Linked DNA regions of Homo sapiens: region 1 is linked to region 2. The links are contacts of gene promoters, found by promoter capture Hi-C in human tissues and cell types (Jung and others, 2019). All regions are on one chromosome and are shown on one strand. Each heading gives the region's core, a stretch centred on a gene start or on the middle of the fragment in contact. The rest is flanking DNA. Distances are from core to core; before and after follow the strand shown.

The links. The method cuts DNA at HindIII sites, captures the fragments that hold promoters and counts their contacts. A contact is called where the count stands out against the background at its distance.
Region 1: a contact is called between a fragment that was not itself captured here and the fragment with the promoter of MMP1 in region 2, in 1 of the 25 tissues and cell types used here (mesenchymal stem cells).

The regions. Positions count from the first base shown.
Region 1 is chr11:102,750,796-102,758,268 of GRCh38, forward strand. No RefSeq gene overlaps it. Among named protein-coding and RNA genes, the nearest start is that of MMP10, 26 kb to the right of the region's middle. RefSeq lists an enhancer at 1,678-2,877. The HindIII fragment of the contact is 8,712 bases long and covers 1-5,681 here.
Region 2 is chr11:102,796,832-102,803,868 of GRCh38, forward strand. MMP1 (matrix metallopeptidase 1) reads right to left here and starts at 1,329. Exons shown (of 10, transcript NM_002421.4): 1 at 1,157-1,329; 2 at 425-669; 3 at 183-331. The coding sequence starts at 1,261. It also overlaps the pseudogene WTAPP1. The HindIII fragment of the contact is 22,607 bases long and covers 1-7,037 here.

The DNA.
Region 1 (7,473 bases), core at 76-2,575, 46 kb before region 2:
AAAGCTTTTTTCTGTGAAAACCTAAGGATGACCTTGATTGACAACCCTTAGTACTTGCTTAAAACTAACTTATATAAGTTCATGAAGCAATATATTCTAGCTAACATAGAATATGTTCAGATTGAAGTTAAATAAGATTGTATTTCTATGTCTCTGCCTTGTGTTACCAAGAGACTGAAATAAAATACTGAAATACCTGGTTTCTTAGAAAAGAACATATTTTGGGCTCATTAAAAATACTTTTTATTTTCTGTTTGGTGATAGTCAACCATCAGTTATTTCTGCACTTGAACCAGATGTTAGCTTTCAGGAGAGTCAAAATTTGCTTCATTTTAGGATTACATTCATACTGCCTTCTTCTACAAAAGAAATAGAAAAAACCTAGAAATAAAAGAAACTAGATAATGATTTTTCACATGAACTCTTGAAAATATCATATTTTTGTGTACACAGTTTACTGTCTTATCTATGTAACACTAAATGTGTAATTTTATGATAGTGAAATGAGGAAATTGAATGGTCTTTACCTTTATTTTTCAAAACAGGTCAATTTTTTTTACTAATTCCGGGGAGGTCATCAATGATTTTGGGATAACCTGCATCCACGGACTGCATATTTTCATCATACCTGGTAACAAAAAATAACTAAAAATATCACATTGTGGTTAATATAAAAACAATAAAAAACACTTAACTTTCATGTAGAACTTTCCATGTACTAATCACTGTCCTAAGTGCTTTTCATATGAAGATTCATTTAATTCTCACAACAAATCTGAGAGGTAGGTACTGTCTGTGCCTCAATTTTGCAAAACCCCGATGGCTGCTTTTAAAAATTATGGGTGGGTACATTGTTGGCATGAAACTATTAAGAAATTTTAACTGGGAGGGAGAGTGGGGCAAACTAGACAAACTCTAAGTTATTCTCAACCATAAAAATCTGATTCAAATTTTCCCTTGGGCTCCATGTTCTGTCCTATCAAGGAGAAATGCTTCATTTTCTCCTTTTTGGATGCCTCTAGTCCCCTTTGTGTGTTCTGCTCTTTATCTCCTTTTCAAATGCAAGCCAACAAGTTCCTTGCCTTGCTAGGCAGCAGTGTGATAACAGGTAGGGGACTGAATGGCTGTGGGCCTGGCTGCATTCATTCTCAGAAAAAAGGAAAGTTTCAGTGAAATTTGAGAAAAATTTTAAAAGGCAACTCTCCTTCCACCAGAGTGATCTGATTTCCCAAGTTTTCTGAGGGTAGGTCTTTACCTCCAATACTCATTGGCAACAAAGAAATGTGTCTTTCCAGTGTCCTTCTCATAAATGGCAGCATCAATTTTCTTCACCCTTTCAGGGAAGACAAAGGAGCTGTAGACGTCCCTGGGGTAGCCACTCAGCAGTTGATCCTCCTGAACGACCCAGTGCTTACTGCCTGTCAACAAAAAATCGGCCATGAAAAGATTTGCCTGGAGTCTAGTAGATATTAGACAGAATTTCCTCCAGACATTTGCTTCACGAGAAGTGGATGGAGAGTTTTATTCCAATGTAAGGTGCACTCGAGAAGACCTTTCTTCTTAGTATAATTGGGTTACTTCTCAAGCTACACAGGTGTGTGTGTGTGTGGTGGGCACCCTGCAGGACTACAAGGGTGGGAGGCAGATGGACACCTTCTGCAGAAGACATATCTGAGCTTTCGACCAGGCTGACTCCAGACAAAGGATTCTGTATTTGTTCATTTGGTTACTCCAGAATGTCAGTTCATCTTACATCATGAAGCCAGAGTATCTCTGCACAAATAGAAGTTACCACCTCATAGAAAGGCAGTTTGAAACTTCATATTTTTAAAAATCCTCCTTATTGGCAAGATATACACCTTATGCTAGTATGCTTCAAGATTCTTTGCTTATTTAAACCAGTTTTTAATTTTTTTTTAAATTTTCTTGAGACAGAGTCTCACTCTGTCCCCTAGGCTGGAGTGCAGTGGTGCGATCTTGGCTCACTGCAACGTCTGCCTCCTGGTTCAAGTGATTTTCGTGCCTCAGCCTCCCAAGTTGAGTAGCTGGGACCACAGTCACACGCCACCATGCCCAGCTAATTTTGTATTTTTAGTAGAGACAGGGTTTCACCATGTTGGCCAGGCTGGGCTTGAACTCCTGGCCTAAAAGTGATCCACCCACCTCAGCCTCTCAAATAAACTCCTTTAAGTTACTTATTTTGCACTGTGATAGGGTCTAGTGTCCTTACATTTTATGCATGCAAAATCCAAAAACCTGAATATTTTCAAAGCACTGAATAGTTGACAAATGTACATAATGATATGATATTAAACATTCTAGTAAAAATTTTAGAGTAATGTATTTTTGTCAGTAAAATTACACAGCTTGAAGAAATATTATTCTCTTACATTTTTATGAAATGAGACAAAATAGTTACCTTTTTAAAGTAATTTATAGTGTCAACAGTTTATATTTATTAAAGTATTTATACTAATAAAGTCAAAATTGGTTCATTTTACTGAAAGCATTCTTTCAGATAAAACAAAAAAAATTCTATAAGCTATGGGAAGGAAAAATAAAAGAGGCAGTGAAGGAATTAGCTGACTCACTTCTGAAATCCTTGGTCCTTGTTTCATCATTATCAAAATGAACATCTCCTCCGATACCTGGTCCAGGTGGGAATGCATGAGCAAGACAACCATCATGTCCATAAAAGGGAGAATTGTCATGGAGATCTGCAAGAAAAAGAATTCAACAAAGATATACCCTTGTTTTATTCAGCCTTACCCAGGTGAGACAAAAGAGCTATAGCAAGGAGCCAAAAGACACACTTCATCTGTGAGGCTTTCCTCCATCAGCAATTCTGATGGAGCAGATCCCAGGGTAGCAGGAGGGAACGTTCAGAATGGTTTTGGGAGAGAAGAGCTTACCTCCTCACACAAAGGATAATATTATGTCCCCTTCACTCTCAAAGTCCCTGGTGAAGGTCAGGGCCGAGGCCTTACTCCAGAGTTCAAAGGCTTTCCCAGTGGCACGGTCCACATCCTCTTGAGGCAGATTTGGCATGTAGTTTTGATCCTTAAAATGATAAAGGAGAGAACAGAGACACAGAGAACCTCATTTCTTCCCACTGTGGTGGGAAACAGCTGTCTCTCACTCTGGTGCGCAGTCTTATTACCTGTGGGTCAGATTTGTTTGCTCCCAACAAGGGCTCTCTTGAGTGAGGATGAGGGAAGCCACATCAGGCACCCCACATCTGGGCTGCTTCATCAAATTCGATCTGGCTTCCCAGTTACCTTCAGCCCAAAGAAATTCTGCATTTGCTTCAGCTTCTCAAGCACTGGGCTACTGTCTCTCTGCCTTCCAATTTGATTGATTTCACTCTTCAAGTTGTAGTAGCAGTTTTCTAGGTATTTCTTATAAAGAAAAGAATACTAAAATAGTAGAAGTAAAGTCTTTCTCAGTTTTCTGAAAAATTGCAGCATTTCACTATTGTAACAATATAGCCCTTTTCCTTAATAATTGAATGAGAAGAGGGAAAAAATCTGTCTGCTTCTGTAGTGATCTCGTAGCCCTTATTATGTTTAGCAGTGGTGCAGAAATGTTACTGTGGTAGAAGAACCCATGCCATTGTTAAGTCTAGCTTTACTCTTGAGGTCAGAATCACAGTTAGTACAGCCAGTCTATGTGTTGCTTGCTCCTTTGGTTCCCTCTAGCTTTACCTTCTTTTTTCTTTTTTTCTTTTTTTGATACAGTGTCTTGCTCCGTTGCCCAGGCTGGTGTCCAGTGGTGCAATCATAGCTCACTGCAACCTCAAACCCTGGACTCAAGCGATCCACCTCAGCCTTCCAAAGTGCTGTGATTACTGGTATAAGCCACTGCACCCAGTGATATATTTTTTTTTTTTTTTTTAAATGAGGGGACCTGTTCCTGACAAACTACTTGTTTCCTAAATGAATCCCAAACTTGCTTGAATTCCTACCTCTTGACCTTTGAAAAATGGGAACACGCTGCTCTTGCATTACTGGCAGCTGCAATGCAGCATTTACCTGGACTATCTCTGCATCTTGTTCTTGTGTTTCTGGAGTCGCTGGGAAGCTGTGCAACCCCACACCCCAGAGCAGCACCAGCAGCAAAAAAAAAAAAAAAAAAAAAAGCCTGGACATGCTGGCCTTTGTCTTCCTTCTCAGTGCAAGGCAAGTGATGGCTCCCTACCTGACTGCTGTTCCAGTGTCTCAGCCCACAGGCTCCCTCTTTATGTAGGGTCCTGGCACTCCCAGAAAACAACAAAATGCTATTTGATTCACCTAGGGAGACATCCTCTTCATTCGCAATGTGCAGTCTCAATATTCATCAGAAATTGTGACATAATGGAAGTTAACCAGTTGCTTTTGCAAACTCATGATTATCATCAATAAGGCCATCAACAATGAAACACACCCCATCGTACACAGTTAAGCAAAGCTGTAAAGCATGGCTAAGTCAGCCATAAAAATATCTGGGGGAAAAGTGCTCCTGTCCAAGGAAACGACTTGTGCAAAGTGTTGGGGAGTAAACGAGCACACATTCAAGAAATAGCACACCAAGACCAATGTGGCTGGAGCAGAGTGGGCAAAGGGAAGAATAGTAGGGGACAAGGTGAGTGATTGCAAAGACAGAGGCAGATGAGAGGGAGAGCTTGTAGAGCATTGCAGGGATTCTAGTTTTGCTAGGAGTGATATAGAGAGTTATTGTCCTGACGTCCCCTGGTCTCTTGCTTCTTGTTAGGACTACTACCTTCCAGGACTGCCACTTAGGCAGGGTCTTATGGCAACACAAGAGAGAGAAAAAGGGCAAAAGTAAAATGTGCTTCCCAAAGCCCGTCGCCAGTCAAAGGAACCTGGGTCTCCTCCATAAGATGTTATTTCCTGCACTGCACTTGTTGAGTCTGCTAAAACACACAATACACTATAATACTACAATATTTTCTTTGTTAAGATAATCTTGGCTTTTGTTAGTGTGCATCACAAAGCTAAATAAAATGAAACAAACTTATTAGCTGAATCATTTTTCAGTGAAAGTTAATGACTGTGAAAGTTCTACGTGAGAAGCATATTTCTGAGAGGACATTGACAGCAATCAGTTGTTCTGTTATGAAGCTGGGTCAGTACCTACTCATCTTTGTGACCACTGAACCCTTTGAAATGTGGCTAATCTGTATAAGGTGTGCCACAAGTGTAAACTATGCACCAAATTTTGAAAACTAAGTATTTTTTTAAAATGAAAAATATCTCATTTATGATTTTTAAATATTGGTAGCCCATGCTAAAATGATATTTTAAATATATTAGGTTGCATAAAATATATTATTAAAATTAGTCTGTCTTGTTTTCTTTTTACTTTTAAAAATGTGGCAACTAGAAAATTTAAATTTCTACATGAGGCTCTTTCCTCCTCTCATCTCCTCTCGTCTCCTCTCCCCTCCTCTCCTCTCCTCTCCTCTCCTCCCCTCTCCTCTCCTGTCTGTCTCCCTCTGCCACCCAGCCTGGAATTAATGGCATGATCACAGCTCACTGCTGCCTTGAACTCCTGAGCACAAGTGATCCTTCTGCCTCTGTCTCCCAAGTAGTTAGGACTATAGGTGCACACCACCAAGCCCAGGTAACTTTTTTTTTGTAGAGATGGAGTCTTACTATGTTGCCCAGGCTAGTCTTGAACTCCTGGGCTCAAGTGATCCTCCAGCCTCGGCCTCCCAAAGGGTTGGGATTACAGGCGTGAGCCATTACACTCAGTCTTTTTATTACATTTCTATTGGACACTGTTGACCTAATGATCTACATGATTAAAAGATGGGTCAGTTAGCCAGACATTTCATCAGCTATTGATTACTTAGGGCCTACTATTTACAGAACACTGTACTAGGCATTGCAAATGATTAAAGCAGCTATGCCCCACACAAGAACATGGCCTCTGCTGTCATCTTGACATCATCTATGTGGAAGATGAAACATACGCATCCAGTAATTTAGCAGCAGGTATCTCAAAGAAGAAGGTGTGGAGATGAGTCTTTGTTCTGGTGCCCCCAAGAGACTTCCTTTTGATATTACTCTAAGTTTTCTTTTCCCTCTTTTTTTTTGAGGCAGAGTCTTGCTCTGTGGTCAGGCTGGAGTGCAGTGGTGTGATCTTGGCTCATTGCAACCTCCACCTCCTGGGTTTAAGCGATTCTCCTGCCTCAGCCTCCCGAGTAGCTGGGACTACAGCTGCGTACCACCATGCCCAGCTAATTTTTGTATTTTTAGTAGAGATGGGGTTTCACCATGTTGGCCAGGATTTTCCCTCTTTTTGACTATCTGCAAGTGGTAACTGATACTAATATATCTGCAGGAAAAATGAATTCTGTTGCCCTAAGTGACCCAATTGGTTTTTTTTCCATTATGTTTTTTCTGTGTGTGTGTGAGTGCCATAATAAAGATCTCTGCCGTTCTTTCTGTTAAGGATGAGCTTCATTTCATTTTCCCGGAAGTGGTGGGAAAGGTCTTCCATGTAGATTCTACGCATCGTATCGACCCTGCTTAGCCTTCTACCTTGTGGGATATTATTTGTTCTTTGCTTACTTGGTTGCCTCTCCTGTGTATATTTAGCTTATAACAAACCACTGCAGATTTAGTGTCTCAAAACAATAATAATTAACAGGATTCTATTACTGGATCTCAGCTGAACAATTTGGTTGTTTGGAATATCTTTTTTGGCGGCAGTCAGATCGTGACTGGGGCTAGAACACCCAAGATGTTCTGGCTTCATCACAGGTCTGGTGCTTTGGTGGAGAAGATTGGAAGGCTGGGATCAGCAGGGATACCAGGGTCTCCCTCTCTCTCTCTTCATGAAGTCTCAGAGCTTCCTCCTCTTCAGTAGAGTAGCCAGATTTTTTTCTTTACTACATTTAGTAATACTTTCTCCATGAATGCTTGAACACATTTAATCCAGGGGACTAGGCTGTATTTATCCATTCATATATGTCTTCCTCCATTCAACAAATATTTTCTTAATATTTCCAGTCACTTAGGCTGGAGAAAGGAAAAATAGGCCAGCAGATTATTCATGCATGGTACCTTTAATTTGTGCTGTAAGAGATTCATACAAAGTGCTGCAATTACACAGAAGACAGTGACCTTATGTACGATAGAGATGTGTGTACAAACTTCCAACACATGATGGATAAGAACACATTCTCCTCTCTCAATTTAATTTTTAACCACAACTTCCCCATCTAAATGGAGTATCACACTAATGCAAACAGAAAAGGGGAAGTGAATGAATTTCTCAGGAAAACCCAAATTCTCTCTTTCCCACAGGACTTCTGATGCCTGCAGAGGCAAGGGAAATAAGAAAAGGAGGCATTTTCTAGGACAAATGGAATATAGGTCATCTTTTCCCAGCCAAAATGAGGCTGGAACTCCCCGACCACCATAGGGTGCATACACTAGCTGTGGAGAAGCCATCCCCTCAGTGCTC
Region 2 (7,037 bases), core at 79-2,578:
TAAGCTAAGCCAGAAGGGCAAGCATTAGCTTTGTTAAGAGGCCAACAGACTTCCATCAACTGTGATGCAGTTTCCCTCTTCGAGCCCATAAAATCAACATTCATCTTAAACAATCAATTCCAGTTGCAAAGCTACGAGATCTAGGGGCAAGGTGAGGTTAAGGTGCTATAAGAAGAACTTACCTCCCCTGACAAAAGATATCATGATGTCTGCTTGACCCTCAGAGACCTTGGTGAATGTCAGAGGTGTGACATTACTCCAGAGTTGGAAGGCTTTCTCAATGGCATGGTCCACATCTGCTCTTGGCAAATCTGGCGTGTAATTTTCAATCCTTAGAATGAAACAAAATAGAGACACATTGGACATGACTTCTTACCACTGTCATGGGAAATAGCTCTCTCACTCTGGCCCTCAGTCTGCCTACCTGTAGGTCAGATGTGTTTGCTCCCAGCGAGGGTTCCCCTCAGTGAGGACAAACTGAGCCACATCAGGCACTCCACATCTGGGCTGCTTCATCACCTTCAGGGTTTCAGCATCTGGTTTCCCAGTCACTTTCAGCCCAAAGAATTCCTGCATTTGCTTCAATTTTTCAACCACTGGGCCACTATTTCTCCGCTTTTCAACTTGCCTCCCATCATTCTTCAGGTTGTAGTATTTTTCCAGGTATTTCTGACAAAAGAAAATTATCGAAACACTGCATGGGAAATCTTTCTCATTATTCTAAAAATTGATGGCATTAAGTTTTAGCCAAAACAGAGAACTGCTTTTAAACCTTGTGTTTAGATTTCGCAGTTGCTTTTATCCTTATTTTTGGTGAGAAATGAAATTTCAGAGTAGAAATGTCCCTACTATTAGTTATTGTGAAGTAAGAACTTCATAGTAGAGCAATTTTTGTAGAGCAAGATTTGCATACTGTTACAAGTCTACAATTTGTGGAGACAAGTTTGGATGTTGTTCCTTTAGTTCACTCTCACCTCCAACTGGAAAAAGAGAGCGTATGCATGGCTAGATACATTTTGGGTGGAGGGTGCTGTTTCTAGCAAAAAAAAAAAAAATCTCTTTATAAGAAACCTATCCTTAAAAAACTCTATTACATTACTGCAGAAAAATACAAACTAAAAATTTACATTATTGTCACATGCAATGCAGCATTTACCTGGACTAAGTCCACATCTTGCTCTTGTGTTTCTAGAGTCGCTGGGAAGCTGTGAGACACCACACCCCAGAACAGCAGCAGCAGCAGTGGAGGAAAGCTGTGCATACTGGCCTTTGTCTTCTTTCTCAGTGCAAGGTAAGTGATGGCTTCCCAGCCTCTTGCTGCTCCAATATCCCAGCTAGGAAGCTCCCTCTGTATATATAGAGTCCTTGCCCTTCCAGAAAGCCAGAGGCTGTCTGACTCATGCTTTATAACATCCTCTTGATTAGCTATGAATAGACTAGGCAATCATTAGAAATGGTGACTCCTAGCAGATTATTTGGAATCACTTGGTGTTGCAATGTCATGATTAACTTCAAACAAGATGTGTGCGAAGGAGACACACTCTGCCATGTAAACAGTGGTTTTCTCCAATTCATTTCTTTCCTATTTGAGAAAGGTTCTTGTTATATACACAGGTCAAAGAGTACTCCATGGTCTTTTTGAAAAAGACTGGTTCTGATGGTCATAAAGTGCTACAGGTTTCTCCACACACCTTGCTCCCAGGGCAGAGGGTGGAATTACTAACACTGCGCACCTGATGGCTGTTCGGCACCTGTACTGACTGAAGTTCAGCTCCCCCAGCACTCACTTTACGGTGGCTCTTCGGGGTTCTCTGAGGTTCCCTTCTGCCTTTGTTAAGCTGCCTGGTACCCTATTGCGATAGCACCATGGCTTCCCTTAATCTTTACTCAGAGCCAGGCATGGTGGCTCAAGCCTATAATCCCAGAATTTCAGGAGGCCGAGGCAGGGGAATCACTTGAGCCCAGGAGTTCAAGATCAGCCTGGGCAACATGGTGAGACCCCATCTCTGTAAAAAACAAACAAACAAACAAACATTTTTTAAAGTTAGCCAAGCATGGAGTCATGCACCTGTAGTCCTAGTCACTGAAGAGGCTGAGGTGGGAGGATCACTTGGGCCTGGGAGGTTGAGGCTGCATTGAGCTGTGATTGTGCCGCTGCACTCCAGCCTAGGCAACAGAGAGGGACCCTGTCTAAAATAAAATTTGAAAAAATTTACTCAGGCCTAGGATTTAAGAGCCTTACCTGAGAAGACCCCTCATCCACAGGCGGAGTATGAGATAACTCCCCACCCCTTGCCCATCATTATCATGGGACAAATAGGATCCTTCCCTGAAACTTGTCTGAATGTACCGGATGATGAAAAGGCTGGAAAGAGACTGAGCGTGACTCTGGGGTCTTATTTTTAATCATACTTGTTTCCCTTGATATGAGTCTATCTTCGCTCCTTGGTGCTAGGCAGCATTTATTTATTCTTTCATGTATGCATTCATTCATATATTTATGCATTCCTCCATTCAAAAGATCTTATTTAGCATCTCCTGCCCATTAAAATAAATACATGGCTCTGTAATGAAAGATGTGTATTCCTGTACTTATGTTCCACATTAAATTGTCTTGGGTACTGGTGACCGGTGTCACCAGTGCTATCTGTAGCATTCCTGGTAAGAAAAGTTGGTTTATCTCTGTAGCTCCCCTACTCATGCCCCACTCTCCTTCCTTGGAAGCATTTATTGAAAACATACAGTGGAGAAACACTGGCCTGTTTTATCACTTCAGCACCTTATGGTGTCTCCCACCTTTCCCACTGTATCAGGTTTGCTTTTCAACACTTTCCTCCCCTTATGGATTCCTGTTTTCTTTCTGCGTCAAGACTGATATCTTACTCATAAACAATACTTCAGTATATCTTGGATTGATTTGAGATAAGTCATATCCTTTCTAATTATTTAACTACAATTTCCTCATCTAAGTGGCATAACATGTGAGTTCAAGAGGGTAAGAAGAATGGGAAGACATTCTCACGAAAAGGAAATCCTCTTCTCAGAGGCATCAGAGGGAGGGTGCGGCAGAGACCAAAGAACACTTGCCACTGAAGTGACTCCAGCACAGACAAAGAAAATAGTGAAAGGGGCTCTTCATATTAGAGGGTGAACATAGACTATGTTTTAAAAGTCAAGGAGTGGCAGATATACTCGACTGTGAGGGAATCTAGTCACTGTGAAGACGTGACAAGCCTAGCTCCACTGAGGCCTGGGAAACAAGGGTGAGTTAATAGGTTAACTCAGGAAAGCAGCATGTGACCATCTGTGATTGGACAGGAAATTGCCTAAGACGTCACCCTGGAAGAGTCTCATACACTGTCCCATCTGGCAAGAGCCTGCACATCCTGCAATGTAGAAGTTTTCAAACTTTTATAAACCTCTGTATCCTTTACTTAAACAAAATCCCTTTTGGAAAGCAAATTTGAAAACCAGGTGAAAACAGAAGTTCTCTGATGGAAGTTGGAAATAGAGCCTTGGAGTCCCCCACAACCCGCCACATCATGCCTGCTTTTTCCTCCCTTCTCTAGCAAAGCTCCCTGCATCTGAGTCCAGAGCTCTCATGCTAAATGCTCATAGTGTTTCATTAAATGTCATAGTTGCTGACGTGGATTGGAAACTGGTTGCTTGAAACATCTTTTCGTTAATTTTTTTTCCTAAAATAAACGAAAAAAATTAAATTAAGTTTTGGTTAAGCAGCCAGCCTAGATTCACATGGCCCTGAATCTTGGAATTTCCAGTTAGGTATTCATGGAAGATCGTCTAATACAACATATGTAACTTTGCAGCTGGTGCTAGCATATGATTTATTTGAGAGTAAAAAAGAAAACAAAAATTTAGAACAGAAAGCTGGGGATTAAATCATACCAAATCCTAGCAATGCCTAAACTTAGCATAGTTTCCAAGAAGTTCAGAACATGTTAAAGTTGTATTTGCTCTTCACATCCATACTATTTGTTTCCTCTGGGAGCATCTTCTTCCCCCATAATTCTCTTTTAAATGTAATTTTCTGAAATTATTCCTTTACCCCTTATGACAAGCATAAGAGGGCTCTCGTGTGGCTGTGTCAGCTGACTCCGGACTATTTCCAGGCAGCCAGATTATTTCCGTGGTTTTCTTGGTTGCTTCATGCTGGCTGCTCTGTGAAAGGCCTCAAACATATTTGTATTTTTCCATATTAAACTTAGTCTTGAAATTTCAATCTTGCTTCATATTTTTTTATGCTGGGGAATTCAGCCGTTTTAATTTTGTAACTCCATTTGAGTGTCAGATATTTTTTCTATTTTTTTGTCCTGCAAGTCTTGAAATGGTCTTTAGCCAGAAACATTAAGTATTTAATGCTATTTTGTTGTGAGAGTTACACGTGGGAAAAATTTGCCCCACGGTCTGTATTCTTCCTACATATGGCCATGCAGTAGCTTTATGGATAACCATTGACCAGACACTTAACAGACACTTGGTACACACTGGTTCCGTCAGTCCTCATGGTTACCTTCTGGGTAGAAATGATTGATCAATTAACCCCAAGTCCCAGGGCACACAGCAGAGCGGTAGTCACTCGTTGAACACAGTTCTGTGCCACTGCAGTCCAGACATAACACATACATACTCTGGGGATAGAAATCTTGCTTCCCTAACAGAGAGAAAGTGTCTGGAGACACGAGGACTGTCACATTAACTCCCTCAAGTCCACAATAATGTCTCCATGCCACCACCCGGTCCCACAGGCCTGAAAGAATCCTCCCCTTCAAGCTGTCACTCAATCTCTCTTATTTCCCTTATCAAACTTGTTGAATTTATAGTTTATACTACCTCAACATAGTAGGTGTCTGCAAATGATTGTTACATGAGTTAATAAATGAATAGATCAATGAAGAAATAGATACTTAAATGACACTTAAATAAAGGGTCTATTTCTCATTAGGCTGAGTTGTTTATAAGAAGTCTTATGCCCATGACTTTTACTCTCCTAAGACTAAAGTTTTTAAAATTACCATGGGAAGAATTTGGATATATCAACTGACTGGACATTCAATTAACTAATTTATTTATTTAGAGACAAGGTCTCCCTCTGTCGCTTAGGCTGGAGTGTAGGGACCTCAAACTCTTGGGCTTAAGCAATCTTCCTGCCTCAGACTCCCAAGTAGCTAGAACTACAGATGTGCACCACCATGTCCCACTGATTTTTAAGATTTTTTGTAGAGATGAGGTCTCACTATGTTGGCCAGGCTAGTCTCAAACTCCTGGCCTCAAGCAGTTCTCTCACCTCGGCCTCCCAGAGTGTTGGGATTATAGGTGTGAGCCACCACACTCAGCCTTACTGGAGATTTTATATGAAGCATAGCACATTTATTTTTGGTGATTTGCATGCCATGCTACAAGCATTTAGTATCAGATTATTTTGAGCATTTTATTAATTTGTTTGTCAATAATATTTTCTTATCTGCATGGTTTATTAAACACTGTGGAAAATGCTTATAGTTAGCACATTTGTGAAACAGATTTTTGCAGCTATAGCTCCTTTTAAAGGAAATTCAAACCAAGAGACTTTCTGGGGATGAGTGCTACTCATACCATAGCTCAGTTCAGCCCTGTCAAAACCGTCCTTTCCCAGCTCTTACATCTGTGAATGTGAATTTGAGATGGATTTGAAATATGTGAGGAAGCTTCCTGTGAGATTTTGATCATGTGCCCAGACTATGACTTGCTTGTTTGGAGTCTGTGACATACACACGTGTGTGGCCTGCAGAGCTTTTAGTCCATGATTCAGAATTCAAACTATATTCCATTGTTTCAGAATTTTTCTGTTTTTCACAAAGTGAAATGTTCTCTAAGCCTGCTACCCAGTTCTTTTTAATTACTCTTAACTACTTATGCCTCAGCCATAATTCTTTCTTTATTTTTTTATTATTATACTTTTTGAGGCAGAGTCTTGCTCTGTTGCCCAGGCTGGAATGCAGTGGCATAACCATGGCTCATTGCAGCCTCCGCCTCCTGGGCTCAAGTGATCCTCCCACATCAGCCTCTCAAGTAGCTGGGACTACAGCTCTCGTACGGCAACTGGGGAACTACAGGTGTATGCCACCACACCCAGCTAATTGTTATTATTATTATTTTTGTAGAGACAGGGTCTTGCTATGCTGTTCCGGCTGGTCTCAAACTCCTAGCCTCAAGTGATCCTCCCTCATCAGCCTCCTAAAGTTATAATCATTTATGATGACCATTGGGCTGGTCAGCTGGTTTTCCTTGAACCAGTCAATTCTTTTTCTTTTTTTTTTTCTATTGAGACAGAGTGTCACTCTGTCACCCAGGCTAGAGTGCAGTGGCATGATCTTGGCTCATTGCAACCTCCACTTCCCGGGCTCAAGCAATTCTCCTGCCTCAGCTTCTCAAGTGGCTGGGATTACAGGCATGTGCCACCATGCCTGGCTAAGAATCAGTCAATTCTTATGAATTCTCACTGAAAGAAATAACATTTAACCTTTACTGGGCTCTCTATACCTTTAACATACAAAACTATTTTATCCTCACAATAATCCTGTGGAATAGTTAGGGTGGATACTATTATTTCCATTTCATAGGTGAAGAAACTGGGACAACTTTCCATGACTAAATCTTTTGTCCAAGACAGTTCCTCTAGCAAGTAGTAGAGACAGAAACTTGAAAAAGGTCTTTGGCTGCTAAACCAGGTAATTCAGCTCTTAAGACAAAAGATTAATCCCTGCAGACATCTTTTTATACTTGTCACTGAGATGCATTTTTAGTTCTAATAGAAAATTATTGATGAAACCACCAATAAGACTGCACAGTCCCTTTTTGCTTAAACTGACATCTTCTCCCGTGAATTATACCCTTCTCTCTCAAGGGTGTTTCTTGCCCTTGGCACAGATTCTTTCCCTCATCCTGTGAACATGGCTGCTCTGTGAAATACATGAAGGAGCACAACCCTAACAATTGTTGCAACCCATAACTCCTTGAGCATCACTTTTCTCTTTGTC